Regions from separate parts of the Homo sapiens genome. Here all the other regions are linked to region 2. Evidence: promoter capture Hi-C in 16 types of primary human blood cells and fetal thymus (Javierre and others, 2016). All regions are on one chromosome and are shown on one strand. Each heading gives the region's core, a stretch centred on a gene start or on the middle of the fragment in contact. The rest is flanking DNA. Distances are from core to core; before and after follow the strand shown. Region 1 overlaps ZNF784 (zinc finger protein 784). Region 2 holds the start of SHISA7 (shisa family member 7). Region 3 holds the start of BRSK1 (BR serine/threonine kinase 1). Region 4 holds the start of MIR6802 (microRNA 6802).

Evidence for each region. Contacts are between HindIII fragments. The CHiCAGO score rates a contact against its expected background, and 5 or more counts as called.
Region 1: a contact is called between a fragment that was not itself captured here and the fragment with the promoter of SHISA7 in region 2, in 3 of 17 cell types (non-activated CD4 T cells, total CD8 T cells and naive CD8 T cells). The highest score is 5.7, in non-activated CD4 T cells.
Region 3: a contact is called between the fragment with the promoter of BRSK1 here and the fragment with the promoter of SHISA7 in region 2, in 13 of 17 cell types (M1 macrophages, M2 macrophages, M0 macrophages and 10 more). The highest score is 11.7, in M1 macrophages.
Region 4: a contact is called between a fragment that was not itself captured here and the fragment with the promoter of SHISA7 in region 2, in 4 of 17 cell types (activated CD4 T cells, M1 macrophages, erythroblasts and 1 more). The highest score is 7.7, in activated CD4 T cells.

The regions. Positions count from the first base shown.
Region 1 is chr19:55,618,290-55,620,989 of GRCh38, forward strand. ZNF784 (zinc finger protein 784) reads right to left here. Exons shown (of 2, transcript NM_203374.2): 2 at 2,452-2,700. Among named protein-coding and RNA genes, the nearest start is that of ZNF784, 4.9 kb to the right of the region's middle. The HindIII fragment of the contact is 1,799 bases long and covers 543-2,341 here.
Region 2 is chr19:55,441,951-55,444,658 of GRCh38, forward strand. It overlaps SHISA7 (shisa family member 7), which reads right to left and starts at 1,350. Exons shown (of 4, transcript NM_001145176.2): 1 at 243-1,350. The coding sequence starts at 913. RefSeq lists an enhancer at 42-670 and a silencer at 164-253. The HindIII fragment of the contact is 48,275 bases long and covers 1-2,708 here.
Region 3 is chr19:55,282,659-55,285,358 of GRCh38, forward strand. It overlaps BRSK1 (BR serine/threonine kinase 1), which reads left to right and starts at 1,339. Exons shown (of 19, transcript NM_032430.2): 1 at 1,339-1,920. The coding sequence starts at 1,785. The HindIII fragment of the contact is 8,428 bases long and covers 633-2,700 here.
Region 4 is chr19:55,239,036-55,241,735 of GRCh38, forward strand. It overlaps PPP6R1 (protein phosphatase 6 regulatory subunit 1), which reads right to left. Exons shown (of 24, transcript NM_014931.4): 8 at 2,442-2,604; 9 at 2,204-2,356; 10 at 1,910-2,044; 11 at 1,201-1,265; 12 at 964-1,079; 13 at 791-876; 14 at 559-648; 15 at 370-467. MIR6802 (microRNA 6802) reads right to left here and starts at 941; the gene lies at 877-941. The HindIII fragment of the contact is 7,408 bases long and covers 1-2,700 here.

The DNA.
Region 1 (2,700 bases), core at 192-2,691, 180 kb after region 2:
GTACTTTGGGAGCCCAAGGCGAGCAGATCACCTGAGGTCAGGAGTTCGAGACCAGTCTGGCCAACATGGTGAACCATCCTTTCTACTAAAAGTACAAAAATTAGCTGGGCGTGATGGCAGGTGCCTGTAATCCCAGCTACTCGGGAGGCTGAGGCAGGAGAATCACTTGAACCCAGGAGGTGGAGGTTGCAGTGAGCTGAGATTGCGCCACTGCACTCCGGCCTAGGCGACAAGAGCGAGATTCCATCTCAAAAAAAAAAAAAAAAAAAAAAAAGGAAAAAAAGAAACTTGAAGATGAAACTAGGTAAGAGCGCTGCTTGGGTGAGTCCTGTGTGACCCATGGGAGAGCAGCTACCCTGTGTGGCTCCATGTTCTAATGCTGAAGACCCAGCATGAGACAGACGTTGTGCCAGTGCCCCCAGGGTTCAGGGTTCAGCAGTAACATGGAAATGGAGCCTCACAGTGTAAGGGACTTGGAAGTATCACTAGGGCTTGAGGGAGCACAGAGGAGTCACCTGTCAGAGTGGAAGGGGGGCTAGAAAAGCTTCTTGGGGAGAAGGTGATCCCTGAACGATGACATAAACCAACTGGAGTTTTCCAGGTAAAGAAGTGGCAAAGAGGCCGGGCACGGTGGCTCATGCCTGTAATCCTAGCACTTTGGGAGGCCGAGGCAGGTGGATCACGAGGTCAGGAGCTCCAGACCATCCTGGCTAACACGGTGAAACCCTGTCTCTACTAAAAATACAAAAAATCAGCCGGGTGTGGTGGTGGGAGCAGGTGGCAGGCGCCTGTAGTCCCAGCTACACGGGAGGCTGAGGCAGGAGAATGGCATGAACCCAGAAGGCGGAGCTTGCAGTGAGCCGAGATCATGCCACTGCACTCCATCCTGGGCGACAGAGCAAGGCTCTGTCTCAAAAAAATAAATAAATAAGAAAAAAAAAAAAAAAAAGAAGTGGCAAAGATTTCCAGGCGGAGAGTTTAGTGTGTTGAACTAAACCCTGCTATTCTGGAGCATTTAAGACAGATTAGTATGGCTGGAGGTTGGGTTCCTGGGGGCTAAACCCTGAAGGGTCTTGAATTCCAAACTGTGGGGCTTGGGTGATTTTATAGGCTAGAGGCTGGAAACTGGCAGCTGCAAGGCCGAATATGACCACTAACACATTTTTGTTTAGTCTGTGCATTTTTTAAAAAGTTTGACTTGACTGCCAACATTGGGAAATCAAAAGATTTTACATAATGTGAACTAATGGAACTTCTGAAAGAAACTGGAAGATGTGGCAACCCAATCTGTGTTCCGGAGCTGAGCAGCCATTACCCTCTTCTGAAGAGGCACTCTCCAATTTGTTGAATACCAATTCTGAGACCTGGTGGCAATCGCCATTATTTCATGTTGCTGATATTTTCCCCTTGAACCTGGCCGTCTTGCTCGTGTATTTACATTTTCACCCAGCTCCTGTAGGCATTCACATTTCCAAATCGTCTCAAAGCCACAAGGAGCTGTGTCTTGGTGACAAGGATCTGCATGGATGCCATATGGAGAATGAAGAGGGCAGGTGGCCGGGTGCAGTGGCTCACGCCTGTAATCCCAACACTTTGGGAGGCCGAGGCGAGTAGATCACCTGAGGTAAGGAATTTGAGACCAGCCTGGCCAACATGATGAAACCCCATCTCTACTAAAAATACAAAAATGAACTGAGCGTGATGGCGCCCACCTGTAATCCTAGCTACTCAGGAGGCTGAGGCAGAAGTGCTTGAATCCAGGAGGCAGAGGTTGCAGTGAGCAGAGATTGTGCCATTGGACTCCAGCCTGGGCAACAAGAGCAAAACTCCATCTCAAAAAAAAAAAAAAAAAAAAAAAAAAAAAAAAAAAAAAAAAAAAATGCAGGCACTGGACTGCTGTGCAGTTGTCTGTGTGTGAGACCACTGTTGGTCTACAAGTGTAGTGATGCCGAAAACACGTTCCAGTTCCAAAGATATTAACTGGCTCAACTGAGGGAAACTGATAAGGGACTGGACATAAGAATGAGGATGAAGAAGGTTTAAACCTGCCCAGGTATCCAGCTTGGGTGGTGGTGCCAATGACATCAGAAGCATGGAGGTTTCTTTGAGGAAAATGGAATGAGTTCTGTTCACATTGTGAGTTGCCTGTGAGTTATCTCATGGGGCCCACTGGGTGAACAGAAAGGTGTGCAAATCAGAGGCTCTCACTCAACAAGCATGCAAAGCATGTTGAGTGTGCTTTTGCCAAACTTCCCTGACCCCCCTCTCCTACAGCTGAACCACATAACACGTAACCACAGTGGGGCCTACTCACCCCCCATTCTGATGATGGGGAAACAGAAGCTTGGAGGAAGAGATGATGCAACTGACTGCTGGTGGCAAAACCATGGTGAGGCCCCTCCTCCCCCAACTCCCCAAAGCGGACAATCCGAATACAAGACCGACAGAGAAGCCCTTCAGAAGGTCCTTTAATAGGAACAGAACTGAAGGTGTCACACCTCCAGCTCCCAAGTCCTCCTCTCGCCCCCACCACAGTGACTCTTTCACTCCACACCCAGGCCAGCCCACCATGCTGCCATCAGCCAGCCCGCCCTTGGGATTGGCGGGGACTAGGCAGTAAGCTGTTTGCTTCGAACTGGGAGTGGAGGAAATTAGAGAAACCTGAGGCTACCTTGAGGCTTGTGGGGGACCCTGGGCTCT
Region 2 (2,708 bases), core at 100-2,599:
AAATATGTGTCGAATGAATGAGAGTCTGGGCTTCTCCCTCTCCCTGCATCACTCCGCAACAGCCGGGCCGGCTCTGGCGCGACTTTCTCAGCCCCTGCCCACCTTCAGCTACGCCGGCGGCCGCCACCTGGGTCTCTGACCACCACGCCCTATCCCTGCAGCCCCTCCTCCTCGGATGGCTCCACCTCCCTTGCTGGGCCCCGCCCCAGGCTCGCAGTCCTCCCGCCCGAGAGCACACGCACCTGGGCACGTTGATATCCCGGTGCGCCCGGGGCGCACGGGACGCCTTGCTGAAGGCCACTTTGGCGCCGACGCCCACGGCCAGGGCGAAGCTGATGACCCCGCACACGACGTAGGCTGTGCTGCCCCCGGGGCCCTCGCCCCCGCGGCCCCCGGCACCCCCAGTCCGGCCCCCTTCCAACCACCCGGCCTGGCCGGGCCCTGGCCCCCCGCCCGCACCCCCAGCGCCCCCGGCGCCCCCAGCTAGCGGCGGCGGCGTGGTGGCCCAGCGCGGCGTGTCGTAGTTGGAGCAGGAGGCCTGCGCCAGGCGCATGTGACGGTGCTCACAGCAGAAGCGGTAGTGGCAGGTGCCACAGCAGAAGCGGTAGGAGCCGGTGCTGCAGTTGAAGGTGGCGTCGTACTGGCCCATGACATCGTAGTAGCCGTGGCAGAGCTCGGCGGGAGGGGGCGCCCGGGCCGCCGCGCCCGCCCCGCCCGCGGGGCCGGTCCTGGTGCCGTTGGCGCCTGGGCTCGCCGCGCCCCCGCCGCCCGTCAGCGCCCCGGTCAGGCGCCGCAGGTGCGCCAGCAGGGCGGGCAGCGGGCCCGCGGGCTCGGCGCTCGTGGCGTTGGACGGGCGCGCCCTGGCCTGGCCGGCGCTAGAGGCCAGGAGTACGAGGAGCAGGAGGGCCGGCATGGGGCTTGCAGGGGGTCGCACTGGGCCGCCAGGCTGCGGGGAGAACGAGAGCAGAGGTTGGAGCGCTGGGCGGGAGAGAAACGGTCAGAGGGTGAGAAACGTAGAGATGGGTGGGCAGAGAGGCTGGGGAGGGCGGGCGGGGGGCGGCAGAGTGTGGGGAGCAACAGGCGCCAGGAGGCAGGAAGGGCGGAGGGAGCTGAGCTGCGTGGGCCCAAGTTGGCCGCCCCACGCGCGGTGGGCGACGATGGGAGAGTAATGGAAACGCGCCCGGGCACGGCTGGGGGAGAGAAATGAGCATGGGCGGACAGAACCGGGATCAGGCGAGAGATGAATGCGGGAGAAGCGATTGGGAGGGTCGACAGACACCAGAGGGGTGTGCAGACATTAGGACGAGGAGCGAGGCGAGGCGCGATGTAAGGAGAAGAAACGGGGGCGGCGAAGAGGAGAGGGCAGGGGAGGCAGCTGGAGGGAGGCGCGCGAAGGGGAGGGGAGGGTGGCGAGGGGAGTGGGGACCGCGGAGGGAGGGAAGGAAGCGAGACAGATGAGGGGTGGGTGGGAAAGGAGGAGTCAGGGAGACGGGGAAGGAGGGAGAAAAGAAGGGGAGGAGGAGGAGGGGGAGGAGAGGGAGGGAGGAGGAGAGAGAGAAGTTGAGAATTTGAGTTTATAGACCAGGCAAGTGGGAAGAGGCAGTGCACGGTTTTTCAACACTGACATTCGGGGACCGATGCTGCTTTGTGGTGAGCGCCTGTCCTGAGCGCTGTAGGATGTTTAGCAGCGCCCTCTCCATGCCAGCAGCACCACATTCCCCCGAGTTGTGACAATGTAAGATGTTTCCAGGCATTGCCAAATGTTCCCCTGGTGGGAGGAGGCCACAGCTGCCCCCGTGGAGAACCACTGACTTACACCCCTATGGTCCTCAGTGCCCCGAAATGCCAATTTCTCTCCCTTAGTTAGATCTGATAATCAAGGGATCTTAGGTGCCCTCCCTCCCTCCCTCTCTCTCCCTCTCTCTCTCTCTCTCCCTGGCATGCACACGCACACACACACCACTGTTACGGCGTCGGGTTTGAAGGGTCTCTGTCCACAGCTGAACCACAACCACAGCAGGGTGGTTCCCCTGCCGACTGGACCTCCTGCCAGCTGCCTGACACTGACAGGCTCTTATCTAAGCTCCCTGTGCCCCAAGTCCCCCATCTGTAAAATGGGGATAAGGATGGTTATCTCTGAGTGGTCAGGAGGATGAACTGAGGGAATATGTGTAAAGAGCTTAGAACAGTGCCTGGCATATTGCAGGTGAAATATGAAAGTGTTTGCTGCTGCTGCTATTTCAGAAGGGAGATACAGGCTGAGAAAGGGTCGTCCGGGTGCGGCGGCTCACGCCTGTAAATCCCAGCACTCTGGGAGGCCAAGGTGGGCAAATTGCTCAAGCAGGAGACCAGCCAGCCTCGCCAACACAGCAAAACCGTGTCTTTACAAAAAAAAAAAAAAAAAAAATTAGCCCGGCGTGGTCGTGCGCACCTATAGTCCCAGGTACTCAGGACGCTGAGGTGGGAGGATAACTTGAGTCCCAGAGATCAAGGCTGCTGGGAGCTGTGATTTCACCACCGCACTCCAGCCTGAGTTGACAGAGTGAGACCCTGTCTCAAAAGAGAGAGAAAAGGTGATGCAGAAGAGAGGTGGGAGTTGGTGGTGGTGGTGGTGGGCACGTCTTCCAGCTGTTTCTATGGCAACAGTCCAGCCAAGTCCCAGACACGCCCACCCCCGTGGACCTAGAGGGATGATAGAGGTGGGAAGG
Region 3 (2,700 bases), core at 89-2,588, 160 kb before region 2:
CTGAGATTTGGCACTCATTAAAGATGTGTGGACTCAAGGTGTTGAATGGGGGACTGGGAAATCTCACAGGAGCCAATAGGCTCCTGTGTGCACTTTATTTTATTTTATTTTTGTTAGAGACAGGGCCTCACTCTGTTGCTCAGGCTGGAGTGCAGTGGTGCAAACGTAGCTCACTGCAGCCTAGAACTCACTGACTCAAGCCTCAGCCTCCCAAGTAGCTGGGACTACAGGCACATGCCACCATGCCCGGCTAATTTTTAAAAAAATTTTTGTAGGGATGGGGTCTCACTGTGTTGCCCAGGCTGATCTTCCCACCTCTGTCTCCCAAAGTATTGGGATTACAGGCATGAGCCACCTTGCCCAGCCCTGGGTGTGCTTTACAGGGGACTTGAGAATTAAATGGGTGTCTAACACTTGCGGGTACATGACATAGAGGGATCTATGGTTTATGCGGAAAGCTAATGGGGGCAGGCGGGTTACTCACAGGCAGAGCACATGCTTGTGGACCTGCTACAGTGGGGATGTATGGGCTGTACTGGGGTCCACATGAAGATATAAAGGACCCTATGACGAGCACAGAGAATATATGGGGGTCTAAAAACATAACACAGGGAAACTGAGGGGGTTCTGGAAGCTTCTCTGTAAAGAGAATCCAAAATCACTCTGGGCTGTGGGTAGATATGGGGCCTTGACATTGGTGGGGACACAGACTTACCCTTACCCTGAATGGGTGGCCTTAGGGGGCTGGGGAAACAGACATGAATTTTGGGTCAGCAACTCCAAGAATTCTTTCCCCTCTCTGTCTCTGTCTCCCTCCATATGTCCCCACCTCTCCCCAGCACGTGTCCCTCCACCTGTGTGTACCCCCGGCCCTCTCTACAGCTCCATCTGCGCCCCCTCTCCCCCACCTCTCTGGTTGGTCTTCCTCTCTCTGTCTCTCTGAATCTCTGACTCTCTCCATCCCTCTGTCGGCTTCCAGCAGCTTTCTCTCCCTCTCCCTGTCTGTTTTCCCGGCTTGCCATTCCTTCCTTCTCTTCTGTCCCTGTCCATCTCTGCCCTTCCTCCCTCTCTGCCTCAGCCTGTCTCTGGTGGTCTCCATCCCTCTGGCGTCTCTGCCTGTCTCCCGTCTCTGTGTCAGCCAGCATCTCTCTTTGTGTATCTCCATCTCTGCCCCATCTGTTGGGTCCTCTCTCTCTCTCTCCATCCTTCCCTCCATCCTCTCTCCTGCATCCTCCCACCTCCTCTCCATCCCTCCAGCTGGAGGCCCGCCCCCTGCCCCCCCTCGCTCCCCCTCCCCCCTCCGAAAGGGTTAACTTTGGGGAAGGGCCCGGAGTCCCCGGATGGTGATGTCAGCGTGCCGGAGAGAAAGGACGAGGTGGCGGGGGGAGGCGGAGAGGAGGAGGAGGCGGAGGAGAGAGGGCGCGTGGGGGGGCGGGGGGGACCTCGGCCTGCAGCATCCGCCGGCCCGCACCTCAGACCCCCCCGGCGGGGGGAGGCGCAGGAAGCGGGGGGCCGGCCAGAAACGGGCTGGGGAGGGGGGGCCCCGCAGCCCCCCTGGGCCATGCTGACTCCCGGGGCCTGACCCCCCCGGGCCAGCCCCCCCTCCCCCAGCTCCGCGGCCCGCCGACTGGGGGGGGCCAGCCCAGCCCCCTGGGGACCCCCGGAGAGGTGGGGGGCAGCCGGGGGGGCCGGGACGGAGCGGTCGCCGGCCCCCACCGGAGAGACGGGGCGACGGCCGCAGGGGGGGCGGCCGGGGGACCGGTCGGGCCGGGACCAAGGGCACCATGTCGTCCGGGGCCAAGGAGGGAGGTGGGGGCTCTCCCGCCTACCACCTCCCCCACCCCCACCCCCACCCACCCCAGCACGCCCAATATGTGGGCCCCTATCGGCTGGAGAAGACGCTGGGCAAAGGACAGACAGGTGAGCCTAGCAGAAGGGGACACCTGGGGCGGGGGGCAGGGTGGAGGTGGCGGCAGAGGCGGGACTCAGGGTATTCAAATGGCAGGGGCTGGCTGCCCAGACCCCTGGGCCCCTCATAGAGAAGGGACTTGGGATTCAGACTCCTGGGTCCCTGGATGGAGGGGGTGGGGGGCGCAGACTCAGGTCCTGGAGGAGAGGGGCTGGGGGCCTGGACTCCTGGGTCTGAGGGAGGAGGGGCTGGGCACTGGACTCCTAGGTCTGAGGGAGGAGGGCCTGGGGGCCTGGACTCCTGGGTTTCAGGGAGGAGGGCCTGGGGGTCTGGACTCCTGGGTTTCAGGGAGGAGGGGCTGTGCTTGGACTCCGGAGTCTGAGGGAGGAGAGGCTGGTGGCCTGCACTCCTGGGTCTGAAGGAGAAGGGCTTGGGGGCCTGGACTCCAGGGTCTGAGGGAGGAGGGGCTGGGGGTCTGGACTTCTGGGTCTGAGGGAGGAGGGGACTGGGGTCCTGGACTTTTGGGTTTGAGGGAGGAGGGACTGCGGTCCTGGACTTTCAGGTCTGAGGGAGGAGGGCCTGGGGGCCTGGACTCCTGAGTATGAAGGAAGAGGGTCTGGGGTCTGGACTCCTGGGTCTGAGGGAGGAGGGGCAGGGGTGCTGAACTCCTGGGTCTGAAGGAGGAGGGGCTGGGGGCCTGGACTCCTGAGTCTGAGGGAGGAGGGCGGTCGGAACCTTGAGTGTTGGGACAGGGAGTTTGGGGCCCCAGTGCTCCAGTCCCCATAGGGGCA
Region 4 (2,700 bases), core at 29-2,528, 200 kb before region 2:
CACAGTCCCTGCGCCAGGACTGCTGGTCCCCACTACCCTGAGCCCCTCCCGCCTGGAACCCCTAAGGCTAGCTCCAGGAGTGGGAGGGACCCGCTCTGTGTCCCCAGCACAGAAGATGTTTGTGCCCCACCCTCATGGCCTGCCTCTCGGAGAGAAGAGACTGCAGAGCTGGAACTCATGTAACAGGAGGCAGACACACGAGGCTGCAGACACACACACAAGGCCACGGCCAACGCGTGCCCAGGAGGGGCCACAGCTGCAGGCTGAGCCCACAGGGCATGTAGGTGCGTGCAGGGGACAGATACAAGTAGGCGCGCCTGCTGCTGCAGAGGCAGGACAGGGCTGTGACCCTGCGCAGGAGACACTCACTTCACACTCTCCTCCTGCTCCCCAAACTCCTCATCATTGAAGCCGAAGTGGTCAATGAAGGCAGAGGTCATGCGCTGCATCTGGAAGTCCATGAAGGCCTGTGGGGGTGCGGAGGTTAGGGCTGGAGGGAGTTGGGCAGGACCCCACTCCAGCATAGCCCAGCACAGCCCCACATAGCCCCACGCCCACCTGCTGCAGCACAGCCTCCTCAGGGAAGTTGAACTCCTTGAGCCGGTCGTCCTCATCGTCACTGGAGGAGTGTAGGTGGTGGGTGTTCACCTGGGGAGAGGAGGGGGCGTCAGGGCCTGCTGGAGCCCCCAGACCAGGGTGGGCAGGCAGCTATCGGTGGCGGTGGGAGGCTAAGACTGGCCCAAGAGAGAGAAGCAGCAGGAGGAGTGCAGGAAGAGAAGCTGGGCCTCACCAGGTCCACCATGTTCTTCTTGTTGGTCTCCGCCAGGGGCCCCGATACGAAGGCTTCCCACTGCTCCTGCTGCTCGCTGGGCAGCTCTGCTTAGGTGAGAGGGGTGAAGACGTGAGGCATCTCGGGGCTTCAAGCCCCCCACCTAGCCCTCAGGCCGGCCTGGGGACCCTCACCCTTCAGCAGCTGCCGCAGCTGCTCTGCATTGGGCCCCTTCTCCGTGTTCTGCACCAGGGCACCGGCCACTCTTGTCAGGTGACCCATGTAGCCTTTCCGAGGGCCTCCCGCACACCTGGCAAGAGTGAAGGCCGCGGCTGCAAGCCAGGACTGGACCCAGGGATGCCCAGCCCCAGCCCGGCCCCCCATCCAGGCAGCCCCAGCCCCTGGAGACATGAAGGGCAGCAGGTGCTCACTGTACACGGTCGTTCTCCTCCCAGGACGTCAGGATCCGCTCCACCAGGCGGCACTGCTGCAGCAGCTGCGGGAGAGCGGGACAGGATGGCCTGGAGGGGTGGTCTGCACACATGTGGGGAGCTCTGCACTGCAGCAGGGGTCCCTTCCTCAGCAGATGCTTCACCAGGCCCCCGCTCATCCAGAGACGGGGATGGGAAGGAGGGATGCAAGCTGGGGCTTGGGACCCTGGCATCCACCCAAGTCTCTCTGGTCTTTCTACAAAAGAATATGTGGTGCATACACACACACACACACACACACACACACACACACACACACACATGCATGCACTAACGGACACACACATGCTCACACATACATGTTCACATACTCGTGTGCACTCACACACATACATGCTCTCACACACGCTTGCACTGACACATGCTCACACACGCACGTGTGCGCACTCATGCACACTCAGCTGCTCGCAGGTCTGCTCCCGCCCACCCCTAGCTCTTCAGCTCAAGTCAGGAGCCCACTGCTCCCTGCACCTGCATGTTTCATCCGCGTTTCTCCCTGGCCATGCCTCCCACACCCCATCTGGGCGCTGGCACCTAACACTACCCAACAAACACTTGTGGGAGGAAGGAGTGAGGGGTAGGCCTCTGGAGAGGGTGCGCCCACAGGGGATGGGCCCAGAAGGAGGGGGACCAGGGAGTCCCAGCTCACATGTTTCACAACAGGGTTTTGGATGGGCGTCTCAGGGCTGCTGTCAGGAGGTGGCCCCAAGCTCAGCATGGTGCTCACGCATCCCTCTACTTGGGCATGCAAGAAGTTGTTGAAGACATAATGGAAGAAGAGGTCCTATGGGAGGACACAGGATTGGTACCAGAGAGGCCCCGCCCCAGCCGAGCCCCCAACCCCTGAGCCCCCAGCCGAGCCCCCACCCCAGCCCCCGAACCCTCAGCCCAGTCCAGTCCCCGCCCCAGCCCCTGAACCCCCAGCCCGGTCCAGTCCCCGCACCAGCATGGTGTTGGGCACGTCCAGTGCCAGGAGCTCGTGCGTCAGGGCTGCATCATTGGCGCTCAGGGCACTGGCCAGGAGCTTGACCACGTGCAGCCGCGTGTTGCCCAGAGGCGGAGCCAGCATGCCCCATGTCATCTGTAGCGGCTCCAGCTGCAGACACAGGGAGGCCTGATTCCCAAGGGCTGCCCTTCCTGCTTCCCCCGCCTCCCCGAGGACCAGAACCCACACCCCTGACCTTGGGAGGCTCCAGCAGGAGCTGGTGGAAGCAGCTGAGCCGCGGGCGTAGGGCGTGCAAGGCGCCCACACTGGACACAGTGCTTTCCAGGGCCCCCTGGGCCAGGAGCTCCAGCTGCCCATCCACACTGCTGAAGAAGCTGTTCACGGTCACGGACTCGGACCTGCAGCAGGGCAGGGTCGAAGGCGGAGTGAGCCTAGATGGCCTGTGCGCCCACACAGGAGTAGGCACAAGGACCACGTCTGCAGGGTCTGGAGGA